Linked DNA regions of Homo sapiens: region 1 is linked to region 2. Evidence: promoter capture Hi-C in 16 types of primary human blood cells and fetal thymus (Javierre and others, 2016). All regions are on one chromosome and are shown on one strand. The core of a region is centred on a gene start or on the middle of the fragment in contact, and the rest is flanking DNA. Distances in the headings are between cores, read along the strand shown. Region 1 holds the start of CCDC142 (coiled-coil domain containing 142). Region 2 holds the start of MOB1A (MOB kinase activator 1A).

What was found. Contacts are between HindIII fragments. The CHiCAGO score rates a contact against its expected background, and 5 or more counts as called.
Region 1: a contact is called between the fragment with the promoter of CCDC142 here and the fragment with the promoter of MOB1A in region 2, in 3 of 17 cell types (total CD8 T cells, fetal thymus and activated CD4 T cells). The highest score is 6.2, in total CD8 T cells.

Annotation. Positions count from the first base shown.
Region 1 is chr2:74,481,438-74,488,561 of GRCh38, forward strand. CCDC142 (coiled-coil domain containing 142) reads right to left here and starts at 1,561. Exons shown (of 9, transcript NM_001365575.2): 1 at 380-1,561; 2 at 15-101. The coding sequence starts at 1,400. TTC31 (tetratricopeptide repeat domain 31) reads left to right here and starts at 1,644. Exons shown (of 13, transcript NM_022492.6): 1 at 1,644-1,698; 2 at 1,885-1,973. The coding sequence starts at 1,659. RefSeq lists enhancers at 704-803, 874-993, 1,104-1,643, 1,964-2,073. The HindIII fragment of the contact is 7,623 bases long and covers 1-7,044 here.
Region 2 is chr2:74,175,619-74,182,387 of GRCh38, forward strand. MOB1A (MOB kinase activator 1A) reads right to left here and starts at 3,261. Exons shown (of 6, transcript NM_018221.5): 1 at 3,043-3,261. The coding sequence starts at 3,056. RefSeq lists silencers at 921-1,113, 2,833-3,022 and enhancers at 2,286-2,969, 6,058-6,197, 6,208-6,337. The HindIII fragment of the contact is 1,935 bases long and covers 2,594-4,528 here.

The DNA of each region.
Region 1 (7,124 bases), core at 311-2,810, 300 kb after region 2:
CCCTTCCTTCTCACCTTGGTCCCAGCTCCAGATAAGCGACTGATGAAGTAGTCTGTGACACAAAGATGCCAGCTCCTTCTCACACTCCTGAGGCAGGGATGCTAGTGGGAGAAATGACTCTGGGGCCTGAAAACAAGGTCTCACTTTCCACAACCCCTGCCCACTCAATGATGAGGCAAGAAGGCATGCTTCCTCCAAGACTCGGGACTGGGGTGGAAAGCAAGACTTTGCCTTGAAAGCTCAGAAGCTATAGTCTGAACCCAGGGGTGTTCTTTCTAAAGGGCCTGCTTTTGCCTTCAGGATGGCAGGTCAGTGAGTTGGCCAAGGGGAAGGAAGAGACCCCAGCCTTCCCAAACGCCCACCCAAGCCCATCACTCACCCTGACCCAGTGCCTGACTCAGCTGTTGCGCTGTTGCCCTGGGGTCCCTCCAGGGTCCCAGATTTAGGTCCAGACTCTGAGCACAGGCTGCCCACAGCAGGGTCCAGTATTGGCTCCACAAGGCCCCAGCCCCTCCGAGCCCTAGTCCACAGCTGGCTGAACCCGCCACGCCCCCGACCAGGCCCAGCAGCCCTGGTAGCAGATCCCCCTCCTCTTGGCACCGCCTGCGGAGCTGGTCCCTCAACGCCGATCCTTGGAGCGCCTCGTCCAGCCGACTTGCCACCTGGCAACCCCGCTCCCCCGTCAAGAGGCGGAGCACACGGGACGTGGGGAAAGGACGTGCGGCCCCTGGGACGTGGCTCAAGGCTTTTCTCTGTAGTGTGTGGTAGGCGGGAAGTGCAAAGAGCAGCTCGGCGAGTTGGGACGACAGGCCCGGGCTGGCGGGCTCCCGGCCGAGAGCGCGAAGCTGCATCTCGATGACAGCCTCCAGGCACTGGGCGGCTAGTCCGATGGGGCGCGCTAGCAGCAGCGGCTCGAGAGTCTCCCCAGGGCCGATTCGCAGAACCGCCCCTTGGGAAGGGTGCAGCTGCAGGTCGCGGCACCACTGGGGCAAGGGGCTAGGGCCGCCGGATGGCGAGCCAGGACTCAGGGTCTTCATGAGTCGCACAGCCGACTGTAGGTGGTAGGCGCAGTCTCGGGCCTGGAGGAGCTGCTCCCGCTCGCGATGCAGCCGCAGCAACACCGCCCGGAGACGCTGCAGCGCGGGAGGGATCGGGCCGCCACCTGCGGGCCCCCGCCTCCAGGCCGCAGCATCAGCCTCGTAGTCCTCGCTCACATCCGCCGGCGTCGGCCACCACGGCGTCCCTCCAGAAGTTCCGCTCGGCCAGCAGTGAACCTCCCAGCGAAGACCGCCCGTTCGACTTCTCTCCCACTGCTCCTCCCCAGTGCCCCCGGGTTGCGCCCTCAGCGGGGGCACGATAACGAGTGGAGGCAGGCTACCTGAGCGAGACGCCTGGGCCATGGGGCGGCGGGTCCAGAACGAACCTAACGATTCCCACTTCCCTGCACGGACCAACGCCCGCCGCAGCTCGGACTTCGCCCCATCGCAAGAGCCGTTTTCTCCAGTCCGGGAGTCGCGGGGACCTTCATGGACTCTCTCGTGCTCCGTAATGGGAGGCTTCTGCCCCTAACAAACATGGCCGCCCACTCTGTCCCACCCCGCCCTTTGGCTGGTATCAAATACTAGACTACCTTTCATTTCCGGGTCACTGTAGATGCGATGGCGCCGATTCCAAAGACTGTGGGGCGGATCAAGCTAGGTGAGCGGTATGACAAGACCAGTGGGGGTCTAGGAGGGCAGAGGCAGCCCCTCTTGGGTCCACCTGTGGTCTGAACGTTTCGAGTAGGATTTTATGCAGAGGGCGGAGAGTCGAGGGTAGAGTGGGGAGGACTCTAGCCCATCTGTCCCGAGCCCGCTGACGAGGCTCCGCCTTCCTTTCCTGTAGACTGCTCTCTACGGCCCAGCTGCCCACTGGAGGTCGCTGCTGCACCCAAACTTTGCAAGGAATTCGGTCCAGAGGATTACGGCGAAGAGGTAAAAGCGACCCTCAGTTTCCCCCAGTCCTGCTCATTTTGGTCACGCCTCTTTGAAGTCAGCTGTGCAGAAACCCGCGACGGATGGGCGCCAGACGGGGCTCTGGAGGCTTTGGGGAGTTGTAGTCTCCGGCCATGCCCTTGAGGATCTTAGGCAAGTGAGGGGCAGGGGATCAGGAGGATGATCCTGATGTAACAGATGCTCGAAGTGGGTAGAATTGAGCAGACAAGGGTCTCTGAGTTGAGGATTAGGGAGTGGGTACGAGTTCCTTGGGAAAAGATGGAGGCCGGGCGCGGTGGCTTGTGCCTGTAATCTCAACACTTTGGGAGGCTGAGACGGGAGGATTGCTTGAGCCCAGGAGTTAGAGACCAGCCTGGGCAACATAGTGAGACCCCATCTCTACAAAAATGTTTTTAAAAAATTTAGCCCGCGTGGTGGGTGGGGGATCTCTTGAGCGCGGGAGGTCAAGGTTTCAGTGAACCATGATCGTGCCACTGCACTCCAGCCTGGGGAACGGTGAGACTCTGTCTAAAAAAAAAAAAAAGCTGGGCCCAGTGGCTCACACCTGTAATCTCAGCACTTTGGGAGGCCTAGGGGGGCGGATCACTTGAGGTCGGGAGTTCGAGACCAGCCTGGCCAACATGGTGAAACGCCATCTCTACCAAAAATACGAAAAACTAGCTGGGCGTGGTGGTGTGCGCCTGTAATCCCAGTCACTGGGGTTACTGAGGCAGGAGAATCGCTTGAACCCGGGAGGCAGAGGTTGCAGTGAGCCAAGATCACACCACTGCACTCCAGCCTGGGCAACAGAGGGAGACTCCATTTCAAAAAAAAAATGAAAAAATATCTTTTTATAGATGGAGGGGACAGTGTGAGCAAAGACAGTAAAACAAGGAAAAGTTGAGAGAACTTTACCAAAGTGAGACCAGAGTAGAGAATCTGGTTGGAACAGTAAAAGATGGGGTGGGAGAGAAGGCAGCAGATGGCTTGAAAGGCTTTGACTTAGCACAGGGGTTTGGATGTTCTCAAGTAGGCAACAGAGTTTTTTTGTTTTTTGTTTTTTTTTAAGATGGAGTCTCACTCTGTCGCCCAGGCTGGAGTGCAGTGGTGTGATCTTGGCTCACTGCAACCTCCGCCTCTCTGGTTCAAGCAATTCTTCTGCCTCAGCCTCCTGAGTAGCTGGGACTACAGGCACATGCCACCAGTCCCAGCTAATTTTTGTATTTTTAGTAGAGACTGGGTTTCACCATGTTGGCCAGCATGGTCTCGATCTCTTGACCTCGTGATCCGCCCGCCTTGGCCTCCCAGAGTGCTGGGATTGCAGGTGTGAGCCACCATGCCCGGTAGACAGCAGGGTTTTCGAAGGAGGGACAGGATCAGATTTGGAAGCATTGAGGCGCTATACTCCCTAGAATCTCAAACTCAAACCCAAAAGTTAATTTAATTAACTTTTGTTAAATTAATTTATCATGTTTGTAAATTGGTTGCTTTTCTTCTAATCCCAATTTTGGTTAATAACACAAACTTTCATCTAGTTGTTTAATCTGGAAATCTGATAATCATTTTATATCCCTTTCTTTTACCTCAAACATTTAGTTAGTCACTAAAATTTACTTTTTTTTTTTTTTTTTTTTGAGACAGAGTCTCACACTGTCGCCCAGGCTGGAGTGCAGTGGCGCCATCTCTACTCACTGCAACCTCCTCCTCCCGGATTCAGGCAATTTTCCTGCCACAGCCTACTGAGTAGCTAAGATGGCAGACACCCACCACCACGCCCAGCTAATTTTTGTATTTTTAGTAGAGAGGGGTTTCACCATATTGGCCAGGCTGGTCTCAAACTCCTCACCTTGTGATCTACCCATCTCGGCCTCCCAAAGTGCTGGGGTTACAGGCATGAGCCACCATGCCGGCCACTAAAATCTACTTCTAAATGTCTCTTGACAGAAGCCCCTCATTTCCGTTCCTGGTCTTGCTGCCATTCCCTTATATCAAGACTCCTTGTATCTGGCCTGAACTAAACATTACATCCATAGCCTCATCTTCCCCTGAGCAGTATTTCTTTTTTTTTTTTTTTTTTGAGATGGAGTTTTGCTCCCGTTGCCCAGGCTGGAGTGCAATGGTGTGATCTTGGCTCACCGCAACCTCTGCTTCCCGGGTTCAAGTGATTCTCCTGCCTCAGCCTCCCGAGTAGCTGGGACTACAGGCGCCTGCCACCACGCCTGGCTAATTTTTTGTATTTTTAGTAGAGACAGGGTTTCACCATGTTAGCCAGGCTGGTCTCGATCTCCTGACCTTGTGATCCGCCCACCTCAGCCTCCCAAAATGCTGGGATTACAGGCGTGAGCCACCGCACCTGGCCCAATTTTGTATTTTTGTACAGATTGCGTTTCTCCATGTTGGTCATGCTGATCTCAAACTCCAGACCTCAGGTGATCCACCCTCCTTGACTTCCCAAAGTGCTGGGATTACAGGCTTGAGCCACCATGCCTGGCCGTCTCAGCACTATTTCATTTGATTGTTTCATTCCCCAGATCAAGTCCACTGCTATCACTGACAAGATAAAGTCTACACTCACGGCCAGGCGCAGTGGCTCACACCTGTAATCCTAGCACTTTGGGAGGTTGATGCAGGCGGATCATGAGGTCAGGAGATGGAGACCATCCTGGCCAACATGGTGAAACACCGTCTCTACTAAAATACAAAAAATTAGCTGGGCATGGTGGTGGGCGCCTATAGTCCCAGCTACTTGGGAGGCTGAGGCAAGGGAATTGCTTGAACCCAGGAGATGGAGGTTGCAGTGAGCCAAGGTTGCGCCATTGCATTCCAGCCTGGAGACAGGGTTAGACTCCGTCTCAAAAAAAAAAAAAGTTCACACTCACTGTGTCACACATGTTTCTTCACACACAGTTCCTGGCTCTGTCTCTATTGGAATAGCCTCCTCACCAATCTCTGTTTACTCAGCACACACACAATACCACCTATGTACTAGATACTGTTGTAGGTACTGAGAAACAGCAGTAAATCAAACAGACCAAAATCTTTCTGTTCAACAAATTAGGAGCATCTAATGAGGGCAACCAGTGACCAAATAAATAAACAACATAGTATGTCAAACATGAGAAGTACAAAGAAAAAGCAAGAAGGAGGATAGGGAGTGCTGAGTGGAGTTGGGAAGTTTCTCCTTCTAAAAGTAGTGGTCAGGCCAAGTGTGGTGGCTCACGCCTGTAATCCCAGCACTTTGGGAGGCTGAGGCACATGGATCACCTGAGGTCAGGAGTTTGAGACCAGCCTGACCAACATGAAGAAACCCCGTTTCTACTAAAAGATACAAAATTAGCTGGGCATGGTGGTGCATGCCTGTAATCCCAGCTACTCTGGAGGCCGAGGCAGGAGAATCACTTGAACCCTGGAGGCGGAGGTTGCGGTGAGCCAAGTTCATGCCATTGCACTCCAGCCTGGGCAACAAGGGCGAAACTCCACCTCAAAAAAAAAAAAAAAGGAGTGTTCAGAGAAGGCCTCTCTGAGAAAGTGACATTTACATAGAGATCTAAAAAGGACGAAGGAGTGAGCTGTTCACTGGGGAAAAAGCATTCTAGGCAAAGTAAAGTGCAAAGCCCTAAGATGGGAGCACAGTTGGTATGTTGTGGGAACTTCCAAGGACACTGCTGTGGCTGGAGGAGGGTAACAAGATAGGAGAAGATTCACAATGATATTGGGGGACCAGATCATATGTAGTGGCCATGTAGTGAATTCAGAGAGCAGCACAGACTGTGGTTTGGGGACAGGTAGTAGAAGGTCAAGGAAGTACCTGTTTGTTTGTTTTTTTGAGACGTAGTCTCGCTCTGTTGCCCAGGCTGGAGTGCAGTGGCGAGATCTCGGCTCACCACAACCTCCACTTCCCAGTTTCAAGCAATTCTCCTACCTCAGCCTCCCAAGTAGCTGGGATTACAGATGCGTGCCACCACACCTGCTTAATTTTTGTATTTTTAGTAGAGACGGGTTTCACCATGTTGGTCAGGCTGGTCTCGAACTCCTGACCTCAAGTGATCTGCTTGCCTTGGCCTCCCGAATTGCTGGGATTACAGGTGTGAGCCACTGCACCCGGCTTTTTATTTTTTTAAATTTATTTTTATTTTTTATTTTTAATGATGACTACACTGGTTTGAGGAGGAAGAGAGAAGAAATACAGTATATATTTGAGTGGCACATCCTGAGGAGGCTGCCTGACATGGGGCAGAGAGCATGCTTTATTTATTTATTATTAATTAATTAATTTATTTATTTTTATGAGACAGAGTCTCACTCTGTCACCCAGGCTGGTGTGCAGTGGTGTGATCTTGGCTACTGCAACATCTGCCTCCCAAGTTCGAGCAATTCTCGTGCCTCAGCCTCCTGAGTAGCTGGGACTACAGGCATGTGCCACCATGCCCAGCTAATTTTTGTATCTTTAGTATAGATGGGGTTTCGCCATGTTGGCCAGGCTGGTCTAAAACTCTTGGCCTCAAGTGACCCACCCGTCTTGGCCTCCCAAAGTGCTGGGATTACAGGCGTGAGCCACCATGCCCAGCCATATTTATTTATCGAGACAGGGTCTCCCTCTGTTACCCAGGCTTCAGTGCAGTGGCATGATCATAGTTCACTGCAGCCTTGAACTCCTGGGCTCAAACAGTCCTTCGATTTCAGCCTCCCGAGTAGCTGGGACTATAGGCGTCCGCACCACACCTGGCTCATTATTTATGCTTATGTTGCAGTTAGGAAGGTGACACAAACCCACCAGGAAATTGAATTTTAAGTATAAGACTGATGAAAGTGCCTAGCAGTATTGGAGATGCTGTTAAGCCAGGACTATCTTCTGAGGGAAGCCTTGGATCTAAAATTGTTTAGAAAATTGAATATACCTTAGTCATCTGAAGTCCTGCCTACAGATTTTTTTTTAGCACGCTGGAGTTTCTAAGTTTGTGGCTTCTAACTCAATAAGTCCAAAAGATCATTGGCTTCTAAGCGTCTCAGTCAGTCCTGCTCTGTTTAGGCCTGATTAGGCAAATAGGAATGTGATCATTCCTGTCTTTGAAGCTTATACTCCCTGAGGAAATGACTCCCATCAGGACCACAGAATGTGTGGGCCAGGCCTTAAAGAGTCTTGCCTTATTT
Region 2 (6,769 bases), core at 2,011-4,510:
TCCAAGATTGTTTTTAATAGGGAGAAACCTAGAAGCAATCCTCAAGTTTATCAGTAGAGGATTGAATTAAAGTATGGTACATCCATATCATGGAATATTGTATAGAAGTTAAGAAAACCAGACAGAGTACACGTATTCACAGGGAAAGATCTAATACATGGTTAAACATAATACACAACCAAACGTACAGCAGGAGCCCATTTTGTAAATACATAGAAAATATCAAAAACTAAACTCATCAAAACTGGTGATTACTTCTAGGAAGAGGAATGGAATAGAACTATGGACTTTTACTTTACCTGAGTAATTTGGAATTTAAATAAGACTGATTAAGAAGTAAAAAAGAGCCGGGTGCAGTGGCTCACACCTGTAATCCCAGCACTCTGGGAGGGCAAGGCGGGTGGATCACTTGAGGTCAGGAGTTTGAGACCACCCTGACCAACATAGTGAAACCCCGCCTCTACTACACACACACACACACACACACACACACACACACACACACAAACTAGCCGGGCGTGGTGGCAAGTGCCTGTAATCCCAGCTACTTGGGAGGCTGAGGCAGGAGAATTGCTTGAACCCGGGATGCAGAGGTTGCAGTGAGCTGAGATCGCACCACTGCACTCCAGCCTAGGCAACAGAGTGAGACCCTGTCTCAAAAAAAAAAAAAAAAAAAAAAAGGAGGTAAAAAAGAATGATGAAAACACTAAAAATCATATCTGAAAAGTTTTTAACATGATAAAAAAAACTATATTGAACAAGGAAGAAAATATTTGCAAATCATAGATGTGATAAAGACTTGTATCTAGAATGTATAAAGAAGTCCTACAACTCAAAAAGACAGCCCAATTTAAAAACAGGCAAGGCCGGGCGCAGTGGCTCACGCGTGTAATCCCTGCACTTTGGGAGGCCGAGGTGGGCGGATCACTAGGTCAGGATATTGAGACCATCTTGGCTAACACGGTGAAACCCCGTCTCTACTAAAAACACAAAATATTAGCCAGGCATGGTGGCAGGCGCCTGTAGTCCCAGCTACTTGGGAGACTGAGGCAGGAGAATGGCGTGAACCCGGGAGGCGGAGCTTACAGTGAGCCGAGATTGAGCCACTGCACTCCAGCCTGGGCGACAGAGCAAGACTCTGTCTCAAAAAAAAAAAAAAAGAAAATTAACAAGTGCTATGAGAGGTGTGGGGAAATTGGACCCCTCATAGAGTACTTATGGGAATGTAAAATGGTGCAGCACTTTGAAGTTTGGCAGTTCCTCAAAAGGTTAAACATAGTTACCACTTAAGCCAGCAATTCTGCTCCTAAGTATATACCCAAGAGATATGAACACATACATCCACGCAAAAACCTGTCACATATGTTCACAGCAGCATTATTCATAATGGCCAAAAAGCGGGAACAACTCAAGTGTCCATCAAGAAGGCCAAGTTTTAAAAAAAGAAAGTCTCGGCCGAGTGCGGGAGTGGATCATCTGAGGTCAGGAGTTCGAGACCAGCCTGGCCAACATGATGAAACCCAGTCTCCACTAAAAATACAAAAATGAGCCAGGTGTGGTGGCCGGCGCCTGTAATCCCAGCTACTCGGGAGTGTGAGGCAGGAGAGTCGCTTGAACCCGGGAGGCAGAGGTTGCAGTGAGCCGAGACCGTGCCATCCCCGGAGGCAGAGGTTGCAGTGAGCCGAGACCGTGCCATTGCACTCTAGCCTGGAGGACAGAGCGAAACTCCGTCTCAAAAAATAAAAAAAAAGAAAAAGTCTCGTATTAAGGTCCACAAAGCAACTGTGCATTCACTAATTAAATATCAACTCGTAAGAAAAAAGTGGAGGAGGGAGGAATACTTCTATTAATATGGAAGTTAAATCTAAATCATACAGGCTTTTTGACAAGGTAATCGTATTTTAGAGACCATTCATTTACGAGAATAACCCAAAGGAAGGAAAATGAGACGCAGATAAACATATTCTGAGTAGTGCTATTTTATAATAGTAAATACTGGAAGGAATCCCAGTTTCTCACAATAAAGTGGGTAAACTCTGGTTATAAAAAATAAAAAAAAAACTATATAGTGTTTTTATATTGTATTTAATAAAAATGTCAAGCATGTGGATTACATCCATAACTAAAATTGGATAATTATTCAATCACAAAACACACATTTAAGCAATATACAAGGTAGAGAGAGACACCTGAGAATAAAAAATACTGTGCCAGAGCAATGCTTCTCAAACCTTAATGTGCATAAGAATCATCAGGGAATTTACAAGCTTTTTCATTTTAGCCTTGTTTGGTTGGGCTCAGGCATTATCTCTAAAATGAGATTCTAAGGTATGCCTATCAAGTTAATTGCTGTAGTGCACTAAAATGGCAATACTGTGTTTCTGCAATGGGACTATGAATTTGTTTTAACTTTCCAAATTATTTATAATACTGCAATGTACTATATAATAATGCTGTATGGTATATTACATAATGATTAAAAACACAGGATTCTACCGAGGACAAGAGAAGTTGGTTAAAATCAAAGCCAGTAAGTGGGCAGAATCAGAACTGGACAGAACGATCCGACTCCAAGGCCAGCATCTTAACTTCAAGCTTCTCAAACTGCGGCAACGCACATTCTCCTGGGGCGGCATTTAACACCGACAATAATGAAACTGGACCTATAACCGAGCAACGAGTTAAGTCGGCAAGGACGGTTTCTAGAAGCTCGAGACAAGAGAAACTGGGGGCTCGCGGCTCCGCCCCCAGATCGTCTCCCCGCCCTCGGGGGCGCTCGGGCGGAAAAGTTTGGAGGCGCGACGGCCCCGGGGCCTTTCTACTCCCCAGCCTTCACGCTCCGTTTCCTTTACTTCGACCTTCATCTCTGTCGGCCTCTCCCAACATCTCGGCCTCCCCCGCGGACCCGAACAGAGGCAAAACAAACGCCAGCTACCCCGCCCCCGCCTCGGCCCCCAGGCCGAGCCCTCGCCTCAGGTCCGGGGAGGCCTCCCCCACAACCTCGGCCCGCAGGCCCGGCGCCCGCGGCCCGACCCCACTCACAAGAGGAAGCTCATCTTCGGTCCTCAGAGGGGAGGCGAGGGGCCCCTGGCCCCCGCCTGGATCAGGATTCGGAGCTGGCTAGAGGGAGCGGACCGTCCTTAGCTCACGGGCAGCGGAAGCCGGGCCGCCGCCGCTCGGAGCCGGGTTTCTGGCCGCTGCGAGCCTTTGCAAACCTCGGCGCCCGCCTTGCCCGCCTACCCCACCTCGCAGACCCGAAATGCGGAACCAACAAAATCTCGCGAGCTAAGGTTTCGCTGCGCCGGGAGGGACTTGTCGCGCCCCCTTTCGCTCCGCCTCGTCCTAGAACTCGGCCAATCATCGCTCTCCAAGCCAGGACCTCCCTCCCCCGGAGGCGTGGCGAGGATGGCGGTCCTGCGGAAGGGGCAGTGGCTGGTCCTGCTCTTAGAGTATCTTGGTGCTGCTGGGTTTCGATCCCGCTCCCTAGGTTATGCAGGGACCTCTATAAGCGCTGCGTACTCCTGCAATTTTTAAAATTGTTAATTTAATTTTTACTTGAAATATATTCACATAGCATAAAATCTGTCCTTTAAACATGTACCCTCTAGTGGTCTTTTTCGGTTTTTTCTTTCTTTTTTTTTTTTTTTTCTGAGGTGTCTCGCTCTGTCGCCCAGACTGGAGTTCACAGTTCACTGCAGCCTGGACTTCCTGGGCTTAAGTGATCCTCTCGCCTCAGCCTCCCGAGTAGCTGAGACCACAGGTGCCTGCCACCACGCCCGGCTAATTTTCTCAAAGTTTTTGCAGAGACGAGCGTCTCACTGTGTTGCCCAAGCTGGTCTTGGACTCCTGAGCTCAAGGGATCCTCCTGGTTTGACCTCCCAAAATGCTGGGATCACAGGTGTGAGCCACTGCCTCCGGCTTTGTTTATGTTTTCAAAGTGTGCCAACCATCAGCACTAATTTTTTTTTTTTTTTTGACAGAGTCTCACTTTGTAACCCAGGCTGGAATGCAGTGGTGCAATCTCGGCCCGTTGCAACCTCTGCCTTCCAGATTCAAGTGATTCTCATGCCTCAGCCTCCCGAGTAGCTGGGATCACAGTCGTGCGCCACCACACCCGTCTAATTTTTGTATTTTTTTTTTTTTTTTTTTTTAGTAAAGACGGGGTTTCGCCATGTTGGCCAGGCTGGTCTCGGTCTTGAACTCCTGACCTCAAGTGGTCCACCCGCCTCGGCCTCCCAAAGCTGGGATTACAGGCGTGAGCCACCGCGCCCAGCCTAACCATAATTTTAGGCCATTTTCATCACCCCGAAAAGAAACCCCATACCTATTAGCAGTTACTCTTTATTACCCACCTCCCTCCTCCCAACCCCTGGCAACCACTACTCTACTTTCTATTTCCATGGATTTACCTAATCTGGACATTTCATATACACTGTGAATGGAAGCATACATTATGTGGTCTTTTGTGACTGACTTCTTTCACTTAGCATAATGTTTTAAAACGCACCCATATTGTAGCATGTATCAAAGCTTCATTACTGGCCAGGCACAGTTGTGGCTTACGCCTGTAATCCCAGCACTTTGGGAGTCTGAGGCTGGCGGATCACTTGAGCTCAGGAGTTCGAGACCAGCCTGGGCAACATGGTGAAACCCCGCCTCTACAAAAACACAAAAATTAGCCAGGCGTAATGGTGTGTGCCAGTGGTCACAGCTATTCGGGAGGCTGAGGCGGGAGGATTCCTTGAGTCCAGGAGATGGAGGCTGCAGTGAGCCAAGATGGCGCCACTTCACTCCAGCCTGGGTGACAGAGCCAGATCCTGTCTCTAAAACAAAAAAAAAAAAAAGAAAAAAGAAAAAAACTTTATTTCTTTCTATGGATGAGTAATATTCCATTATGTGAATATACCACATTCTGTTTACCCATTCATCTGTTGAGGAACATTTGGGTTGTTTCCACTTTTTGTCTATTATTAATAATGCTGTCGTGAACATTCATGTACAGGCTTTTGTGTGGTATTAATGCCAAGTGACAGCCAAGCAACGCCTTCATTCCACCATGGTGGAATGAAGAAAACAAAAGGAAAATAGTGGGAGACTTCAGTCATAGCTCAGCAAATGGTGGTGCAGGGTGCTCAATGTAAAGGAGTTTGCCCTGTACCTGACTGCACAATGTTCATGTTTCCAGTAATTTTATTTCATTCATATATCACTTGTCACATTAAGTTAATGATGTTAGGGCACATGAGACTGTATTAAATTATATTTACTATTTCTTGAATATATTTTTCAGTCAGTTATGTAAAGCAAATTTACATACTCTTTTTCCTCCCCTGAAAAAAATAAATTAATAATTTTAATTTTTTAAACTTTTGTAGTTTTTTGGAATTTGATTTATAAATAAATGCGATTTGATATCGCTATATGGAAGTTACAAATATAGGAACACAGATTTAGGCCGGGCGAGGTGGCTCACACCTGTAATCCCAGCACTTTGTGAGGCTAAAGTGGGCAGATCACTTGAGCTCAGGGGTTTGGGACCAGCCTAGGCAACATGGCAAACCCCCATCTCTACAAAAAAAAAAAAAGATAGCCGGGTGTGGGGGTGCACGCCTATAGTCCCAGCTACTTGGGAAGCTGAGGCGGGAGGATGGGTTGAGCCCTGGAGGTAGAGGCTGCAACGAGCCGAGATCACACCACTGTACTCCAGCCTGGGTGACAAAAGTGAGGCCCTGTCTCAAAAAAAAAAAAGAAAAAAGGTACATCTATTTATACTTCTGTGGTAATTTATATTACTTAAATAATATCATAAAAACAATTTCCAAATAACATGGGAAAAAAGAAATTCATGAAAGGTTTCCCTCTTTCAATGGTATTTTTCTTCAAGTTGAAGAATCACTGAGGATAGAAGTCCAGCTATTTATAAGAAAAACCTTTCAGGATGGCTAAATTTGGTTGGGGTAGCAGGGAGGGAGGATTTCAGGGTTAGGGAAAAATCCTCAATCAATATTTAAGCACGATATCAACATAGTTCACTTAGATATCAAAGATAAGATTTTTCCAGTAAAAGAGAGAAAAAGAAATTGTTCATTGCTAATTGCTACAGGACAATTTGTTCCCTACCAGACAAGGTCTATACAAAGACCGAAGAAGTTTTATTCACTTCTTGGCTTAGCCGGCCAGAGATCACTGCACACCATCTGGTCACAGCAGATGCTGAAAGCAGAAGCTAAGCGGCAAATTATGAGGCCTCCAGGACTAGATCTTCTGAACCTCTCCCCACCCGCCTTTCATCACACACAGTTCCCCTTTCTAGCTCCCTGAGGCAGGATTTGCAACTCTGCATTTTCATTCTGTGTAAGTGCCCATCCTATCATTTGCAAAACTCCCGTTTTACCCTAACAACCTCACCCACACAGGGCATCTTCCCACTTTGGTCGCAGTAACGTTCCTGCCCCTCCCAGCCAGTTGGTGCTGTTGGGAGCTCAAGCTTTTTTTTTTTTTTTTAAACAAAAACAAACAAACAAAAAACTCTACTCCTGTGACAGATTAAGGAATTTTAATCTTTGTCACAAATAGGTGAAGAGAAACAAACAGTAAAGTTGCTAACCAGCCTGGGCAACATGGTGAAACCCCTTCTCTACAAAAAATACAAAAATTAGCTGGGCATGGTGACTTGAGTCTGTAGTCCCAGCTACTCTGGAGGCTGAGGTGGGAGGATCCCTTGAGCCCAGGAAGTCCAGGCTGCAGTGAAAGGAGACTGTGCCACTGC